2 separate regions of the Homo sapiens genome follow, and region 2 is linked to region 1. Evidence: promoter capture Hi-C in 16 types of primary human blood cells and fetal thymus (Javierre and others, 2016). All regions are on one chromosome and are shown on one strand. The core of a region is centred on a gene start or on the middle of the fragment in contact, and the rest is flanking DNA. Distances in the headings are between cores, read along the strand shown.

Region 1 (3,644 bases), core at 96-2,595:
AACCATAGAATTACCATGTGACCCAGTAATTCCACTCTTAGGTGTATACCAAGAAAATTGAAAATAGGGATTCAAACAGATACTTGTACATCAGTGTTCACTACAGCATTATTCACAATAACTAAAAGATGGAAACAACCCAAATGTCTATTAATGGATGAATGAGTAAACGAATTGTGGTATATATATACATAGAATGGAATACTATTCAATCATAAACAGATATGAAGCTCTGATACATCCTACAACATGGATGCACCTTGAATACATTATGTTACTTGAGAGAAGACACAAAAGGACAAATATTGTATGATTCCACTTTTATGACATGAAGTATCTATAATAGGCAAATTCCTAGAGACAGAAATAAGATTAGAGGTTTCTTAGGATTGAGGGGAGAGGAAAATGGGAAGTTGTTGCTTAATGGGTACAGAATTTTTATTTGGGGGTACTAAAAAGCTTTTGGAAAAATATACTGGCGTATTCCACAACATTGTATCATGGAATTGTCACTTGAAAATGGCTAAAAATAGCAAATTTTAACACACATATTACAACAATAAAAAATAAAAAAGTAAAGGTTTGTCAGGCATTTAATAATTAATACCTTTCATTGTTTTTGTCTGGAAAGAGTGTGTGCAAAGATACTTAACAACCAAATGTAATGTGTGATCCTTGATCGGCTCTTGCATTTTTTTTTTTTTTTTTTGAGACGGAGTCTCACTCTGTCGCCCAAGCTGCTGGAATGCAGTGGCGCGATTGGCTCTTGCTTTCTAAATAAAATGCCTATAAGATATTCTTAGGACAAGTGGGGGAAATTAAATCGGGAAGAGAATTATTATGAAATTAATGATCTTAGGTATAATAATTGTACTGCGGTTATGTAGCAGAACATCTATTCTTAGGAGATACATGCTGCAATGTTAAAGGGTTAAGTGTTACAATGTCTGCAATGTTAAAGGGTTAAGTGTTACAATGTCTGTAACTTACTTGCAAATGGTGACCCCAAAAAGGTGTGTGTGTGTGTGTGTGTGTGTGTGTGTGTGTGTGTGTGTGTGTGTGTGTGTGTGTGTGTCTGTGTACGCGCTTTGGAAGGCTACAATTGCGAGAAGCGCAGGTCTCCGCCACCGAAGCTTTAGACTCATAAGCCGGGTCAGGCCAAATTCCGCTGTGCGTAGGGGAACAAACGGCACAAACGGGGCACAAAAGGGGAACAAACGGCATACGCAACCGTCCCCGCGGGAGCCCCGGCCCAGCTCAGCGCACCCGCCAGCATGCCCCACCCTGATTGGTCCACTTGCTCAGCTCGCCGGCACCCCTATATCCAATTGGCGTAGCGCTTGCTGAGCGGCGGCGGCAACCGACGTACACAAGGGGCTTGAGCGTTCTGTGGAGAGAGTGCGAGGTCAGGCCATGAACTTGGGGTAAGCAGGGGTAAGCTGGGGTAAGCTGGGGTAAGCAAGGTGGTCGTCAGCGGAGAGGGAGGCATGTGTGTCTGGGTTGTCCCTTGGAGTCTTTACTGGAGAACGTTCCCAACCTGCGCCGCCGAGAGGGGCAGAGCCCAGTTCTCGGGTAGAAGATCGAGGCAGATGGGTCGGCCCTTAGCGACTCCACAGACCTTACGTTTTCACTTAATGACTAGCATTAAAACTGCCAGTGATCCCCTTTCGGTCCCTTATTTACCTCAGGATGAGGAGGGAAGAGAGGTGAGGAGGAAAGGAGAGAAATGACGAGACAGTTAGAGGAAGCGTGGCGGCTCCTGGGGAGGACTCCTGGCCCATGCCCCGGGTTCTTCGCCACCTTGTTTTTGGAGTCTTGCAGAATGTTGAAACGCCCAAATTCGTTTTAGGCCCACGAGGCGGGGAACCAGGCTTCTCAAGAAATCGATGTAGTACCAGTGCCTAACACCTAGTAGGCGCTCCTTAAGTAGGGGTGAATAAATAAAAAGGGCTGGTGCATGGTCTTCATCACTCGCAAGTTTGATATTTTGAGAAGATGAGAAGCCACCAAACTCAGACCTAACTACACATCGTTCAGCAAATGTTATTATGTTTTAGAATCTGGGGATATGGAAATAAATAAGATAGTGTGTCCCTTAAGGAGATTACAGTGCAGTGCGTCATTGAAGGTACTTTACCATTGAAGCTCTTTTCTTTCTTGGTGACGTTTCACCAACATAAACACGAACTGTTCATAACCCTACAATAAGGAAAGCCGTAAAACCTATTCTTTCCAGTGTTTTACCTTTAATAGTTAAGGTGAGGTAATTTGATTTCCCCTACCTGAGCAACACCGCAAATTTCGCATTCCTAATCAGACCTTTCCCAGCCTCTCTCTCCCTTGACTGGCTTGCTGGATTTAATTTTCTCTCTCTGAATTATGGACTGTATGTATGGGCTGCCATTTTTGTTCTCAGTGGAGTTTTAGGACCTTAACAGACGTTCAAGTTTTGTTGGCAGTGGCTACTGTTACTTTATGCCTTTGCTTCTGATATGCACGTATAAAGCACCATACTAAATATCACTATGTATTATTTGAAATATTGAAAGTGGTACTCTTTGCTCAAGCAGTTACTAACCTTGATGGCATTGTTAGTAGTCATATCGATGCTCCAGCACTCCATAGAATGTTTTAGTCATGAGTTCATTATGAAACTAATGAATGGCGGTTAAATATATCTTGTTCCTTTAACTTATGTGAGGAGTTTTGGTAACAGCATTATTAAAAAATGGTGGTATGATAACTTAATTTATAGTTTACCAATAACAAAATGAGATTTCAGGTTAATGATAACAATGCTTGTAGTATTGAAGAGTTTCAAGAATTTTCCCCCTGTAGTTGTGGGTTTTATCTTGGATTGCAAACGTTTTTAATTAAAACACTGGTTCGATGTGTACAAGATTCCTGCATAAATTCAAAATAATGGATTTATTGTCAGGTTCAAATGAACATTTCTGGTTATTTAAAATGTTGCGGTTTGTTAAAAATGAGAGACAACTTTCTTTTTTTATTACAGAGATGGTTTAAAGCTTGAAACTGAATTACTGGATGGAAAAACCAAGCTAATATTGTCTCCATATGGTATGTTGTGTTACAGAAATCTGAAATGTTAACTTTTAAATTCATACATAAAATTTATATTAGTTCAACAGACTTTTTGCTTGTAATAGAGTGATATTTAAATGATATTTTAGAAAAAGCTGTTTCCTCAAACTTCTGCAGATTTCCTTCTAGCCAAATAAAATCAGATTACAACACTGCTTACTACTGTCAGTATTCAGACTCATAACATTTAATGTTCCAGTATATTGCGTGTTCATTATATCCATATAGCAAATATCCTCATTGCCTGATGAATAATACAAGTAAAATTTATGTAATTATGTTCTTTGCATGTAAAGAATGTATCATTTGAGAAAAGTTTATAGTAAGACCACCGTAAAATGCTAAAGTCACTTTTAGTATTCGTTTTTAAACTCAGTGTACTTTGGTACCTTCTCCTTCGCATTTTTTTTTCTGTTTATAGTTTTACCTTGGAAAGATAAAAAACAAAAATAAAATAGAAGTAAATCCTTGAACTGGATTAGAAAAAAATACTCAGTCAAGATCTAAAGTTTATGCTTTCGAGGATAATGTTGCTAGCT
Region 2 (3,497 bases), core at 634-3,133, 250 kb after region 1:
AAACGGCACAAAGTGTCTTTCAGAACTTGCCTTCGGCATAGCCCGTTATAATCCTATAAAATGCTTCACAGCCGGGCAGTGTTCCTTGCCAGCCAGAAGCCTGGAGACTGAAATAAAGAGGGCTGTTCTGCATTTGCAGGAACTGTGCCAAGCACAGGGCCTGTGGTCTTGCCTGTGTTGAGCGGGGGTCATTTGGGCTGCTGGTGGAATGGTAGGCCTGAATACAGAAGCCCACCACTGGTTATTAGCTCCTTTTAGACTTGCAGACAACCAGGCATGGCTTGGAGACCATCTGTCAACTCCTTAAATCCCAGTCCCATGACTGGGAGCAGAGCAGGCCTAGCCTGAGGATAAAACCAGAAGCTAACATGGCTGTGACAGCCTTCTCAGCCAACAGGACAATGCTTTGTCCTATTAGCGTTATATTTTAACATAAGGAATAGCGAGTTCCTTTTTTTTTTTTGAGACACAGTCTTGCTCTGTTGCCTAGGATGGAGTACAGTGGTGTGATCTTGCTCACTGCAACCTCCACCTCCCGGCCTCAAGCAATTTTCCCGCCTCAGCCTCCTGAGTAGCTGGGATTACAGGTACACACCACCACGCCCGGCTAATTTTTTGTGTTTTTAGTAGAGACGGGGTTTCACCATGTTGGCCAGGCTGGTCTCGAACTCCTGACCTCAAGTGATCTGCCCCGCCTTGGCCTCCCAAAGTGCTGGGATTACAGGTGGGAGCCACCGCGCCAGGCCTGAGTTCCTTTTTCTTTAAAGGCTTGTTCATCCATCCGTTCATTCATTTATCAAATAATTAATGAATGCTTATTACAGTCAGGTGTTCAATTAGATACATTTCTCCCCTCCTCTTCTCCACCCATTCCTGAACTTCTATGCCAGGCAGATGTTTAATACATACTTGCTCAAAGAATAAGGCCAATTTTAAAATGTGGCCTTTCAATTGTAACCTATGTGTTTACATTTGAATAAGGAGCTCAAGGAACAGTAGCTGATCCCCGAAAGCCTGGGCCTCCAATATGTGTACCTCTGTTTGCTTTCCCTGGTATCTGAAGTCATCTCTTCTACCTGCTAAAGTGGCATGGATGTGTAGGTATATGGTGGGCACATGAGTGTTGCAACACCTTTCCCCTCCCCTTCCATTTGGGTGACATTTCCAGTTAATGACCAAGCCCCCCTCTCCTCTCTCTAATTTCAGTTTTGATGGGGAGGGAACCTAAAGAAGTTCTGGCAGTGAATTCTGGCAGATCAGGACTGTGATTTACTGCTAGATAGGTAAAAATGGCACAAATGAAGCAACCATCATCTCTAAACTCATACCAGTATTACTATTCTCCCTTTGCCTGAGGAGCTGTCCACTGACTCCAGTCTAGATTTACAAAAATGTATCTCTGGGCTGGGTGCAGTGGCTCATGCCTGTAATCCCAGCACTTTGGGAGGCCAAGGCGGGTGGATCGCCTGAGGTCAGGAGTTCAAGACCAGCCTGACCAACATGGTGAAACCCCGTCTCTACTAAAAATACGAAAATTAGCCAGGCATGGTGGCGGGTGCCTGTAGTCCTAGATACTCGGGAGGCTGAGGCAGGAGAATCACTTGAACCTGGGAGGCAGAGGTTGCAGTGAGCCGAGATCGTGCCACTGCACTCTAGCCTGGGTGACAAAGTTAGACTCTGTCTCAAAAAAAAAAAAAAAAAGTATCCCCGGATAGTCTAAAGCTGGAAGGCTTAATTCTTGCATTTTCTTTAAGGTCTCATTTTCTGAAAAACTGGTTAAAGGAGAGTATCTCTCTCTCCCAGCTGAGCTAATCCTGTGGATTATCAGCTATAAAGCAAAAAAAATAGTAATAATAAATTAGCCAGTCACAGTGGCTCACGCCTGTAATCCCAGCACTTTGGGATGACGAAGCAGGAGGATTGCTTGAGCGCAGGCGTTCGAGACCAGCCTGAACAACATAATGAGATCCCCATCTCTACAAAAAAAGAAATATCCGAAAAGTAGCTGGGCGTAGTAGCATGTGCCTATGGTCCCAGCTACTTAGGAGGCTGAGGTGGGAGGATCCCTTGAGCTCAGGAGGTCGAGGTTGCAGTGAGCCATAATCATGCCAGTGCACTCCAGCCTAGGCAACAGAGTGAGAACCTGTCTCAAAATAATTAATTAATTAAAATAAAAATAAAAAATTAGCTATGAAATTAGCAAATTTTTTTGTTTTTTCAAAAAAATAATAATATTGAAGTGTTTTGCCCTGAAACATCATAAACATTTGCTAGCCTCTGGTTCATAAGAGCAATACTTCTCAACCAATGGTGATTTTACCTCCCAGCAGATATTTGGCACTGTCTGGATGTATTTTTGATTGATTGTCAGTGGACAAGGCCAGGGTGCCATTGGCATCTAATAGGTAAAGGCCAGGGATGCTGTTAACACTTATGATACACAGAACAGCTTCCCATAACAAAGAATTAGCAGGTCCAAAATGCCAATAGTGCCACTATTGAGAAACGCTGTGGTAAAGAGAGAGTGGTCCTGAAATATGGTATTGGAGCCAAGGGAATCTGTGGGTATTGACCTCAAGGTATTTTCACTTCAGACTTTGATCATTGATTAGTATCAAATATCAGCTTAGGCTTGGTGGGGCAAAGAAGAAATGCTTGAGTGCCAAGAAACCCCAGAACAGGGCAATGAATCAAGTCTTCCCTGATGCCCAAACCTGACCGTTGGCTGAATAACAAATTCCATAAAACACAAGACAGACAAAAGAATAAAGAGGAATATAGGAGTAAGGGAGTGAGGGGACAGAAAACTGTCTTAAACTGCTTCAGGTACACAAATATACTTTAAAACACCAGTGAAAATTAAAATTTCAATGAAATATAATAAAGAAGAAACCAGGGAAGAGGGAATTTTTTTCAAGTCTTATTCTTCCCCAGGACAACCTTTGCCACTATATTTGTTTTGGGGGGCAGAAATGCAAACTCAGTGATTAAATGAAAACCCTAAGGGGTTTAATTTACTATTTTCTTGATATATGGTGTTTCTGGATGCACAGTTTGTATAAACAAAAACCTGTCTCACTGAAGATTTTGCAGTAAGAAACCTGACCTTCTCCAATTTGAACTTATAACTATCAGCAGGCTTGTTCTGCCCACAGAAGTAATAAAACATTTTCTGTGTACTACTAGAGTGTCTTTGAATTTTCTGGAGAGTCTGCCTTTGAGAGTATTTCATATTTGGGGGTTAAGGATTCAATAAATATGTTATATTTAATTTTTAAAATATTTTTTACTTTACTTTTTTTTTTTCCTTTGTGACAGAGTCTCACTTTGTCACCCAGGCTGGAGTGCAGTGGTGCAATCTCGGTTCAGTGCAACCTCCACCTCCCAGGTTCAAGCGATTCTCCTGCCTCAGACTCCTGAGTAGCTGGGATTACAGATGTGCACCACCATGCCTGGCTAATTTTTGTATTTTTAGGAAAGACTGGGTTTCACCATGT

The links. Contacts are between HindIII fragments. The CHiCAGO score rates a contact against its expected background, and 5 or more counts as called.
Region 2: a fragment that was not itself captured here is called in contact with the fragment with the promoter of CCDC66 in region 1 in 6 of 17 cell types (total CD8 T cells, naive CD4 T cells, non-activated CD4 T cells and 3 more); the score reaches 7.1 in total CD8 T cells.

Annotation. Positions count from the first base shown.
Region 1 is chr3:56,555,830-56,559,473 of GRCh38, forward strand. It overlaps CCDC66 (coiled-coil domain containing 66), which reads left to right and starts at 1,346. Exons shown (of 18, transcript NM_001141947.3): 1 at 1,346-1,424; 2 at 3,017-3,081. The coding sequence starts at 1,414. RefSeq lists enhancers at 789-1,461, 1,462-2,133, 1,602-1,761. The HindIII fragment of the contact is 1,896 bases long and covers 1,132-3,027 here.
Region 2 is chr3:56,806,440-56,809,936 of GRCh38, forward strand. It overlaps a transcript of ARHGEF3 not described here. Among named protein-coding and RNA genes, the nearest start is that of ARHGEF3, 6.2 kb to the left of the region's middle. The HindIII fragment of the contact is 4,883 bases long and covers 1-3,497 here.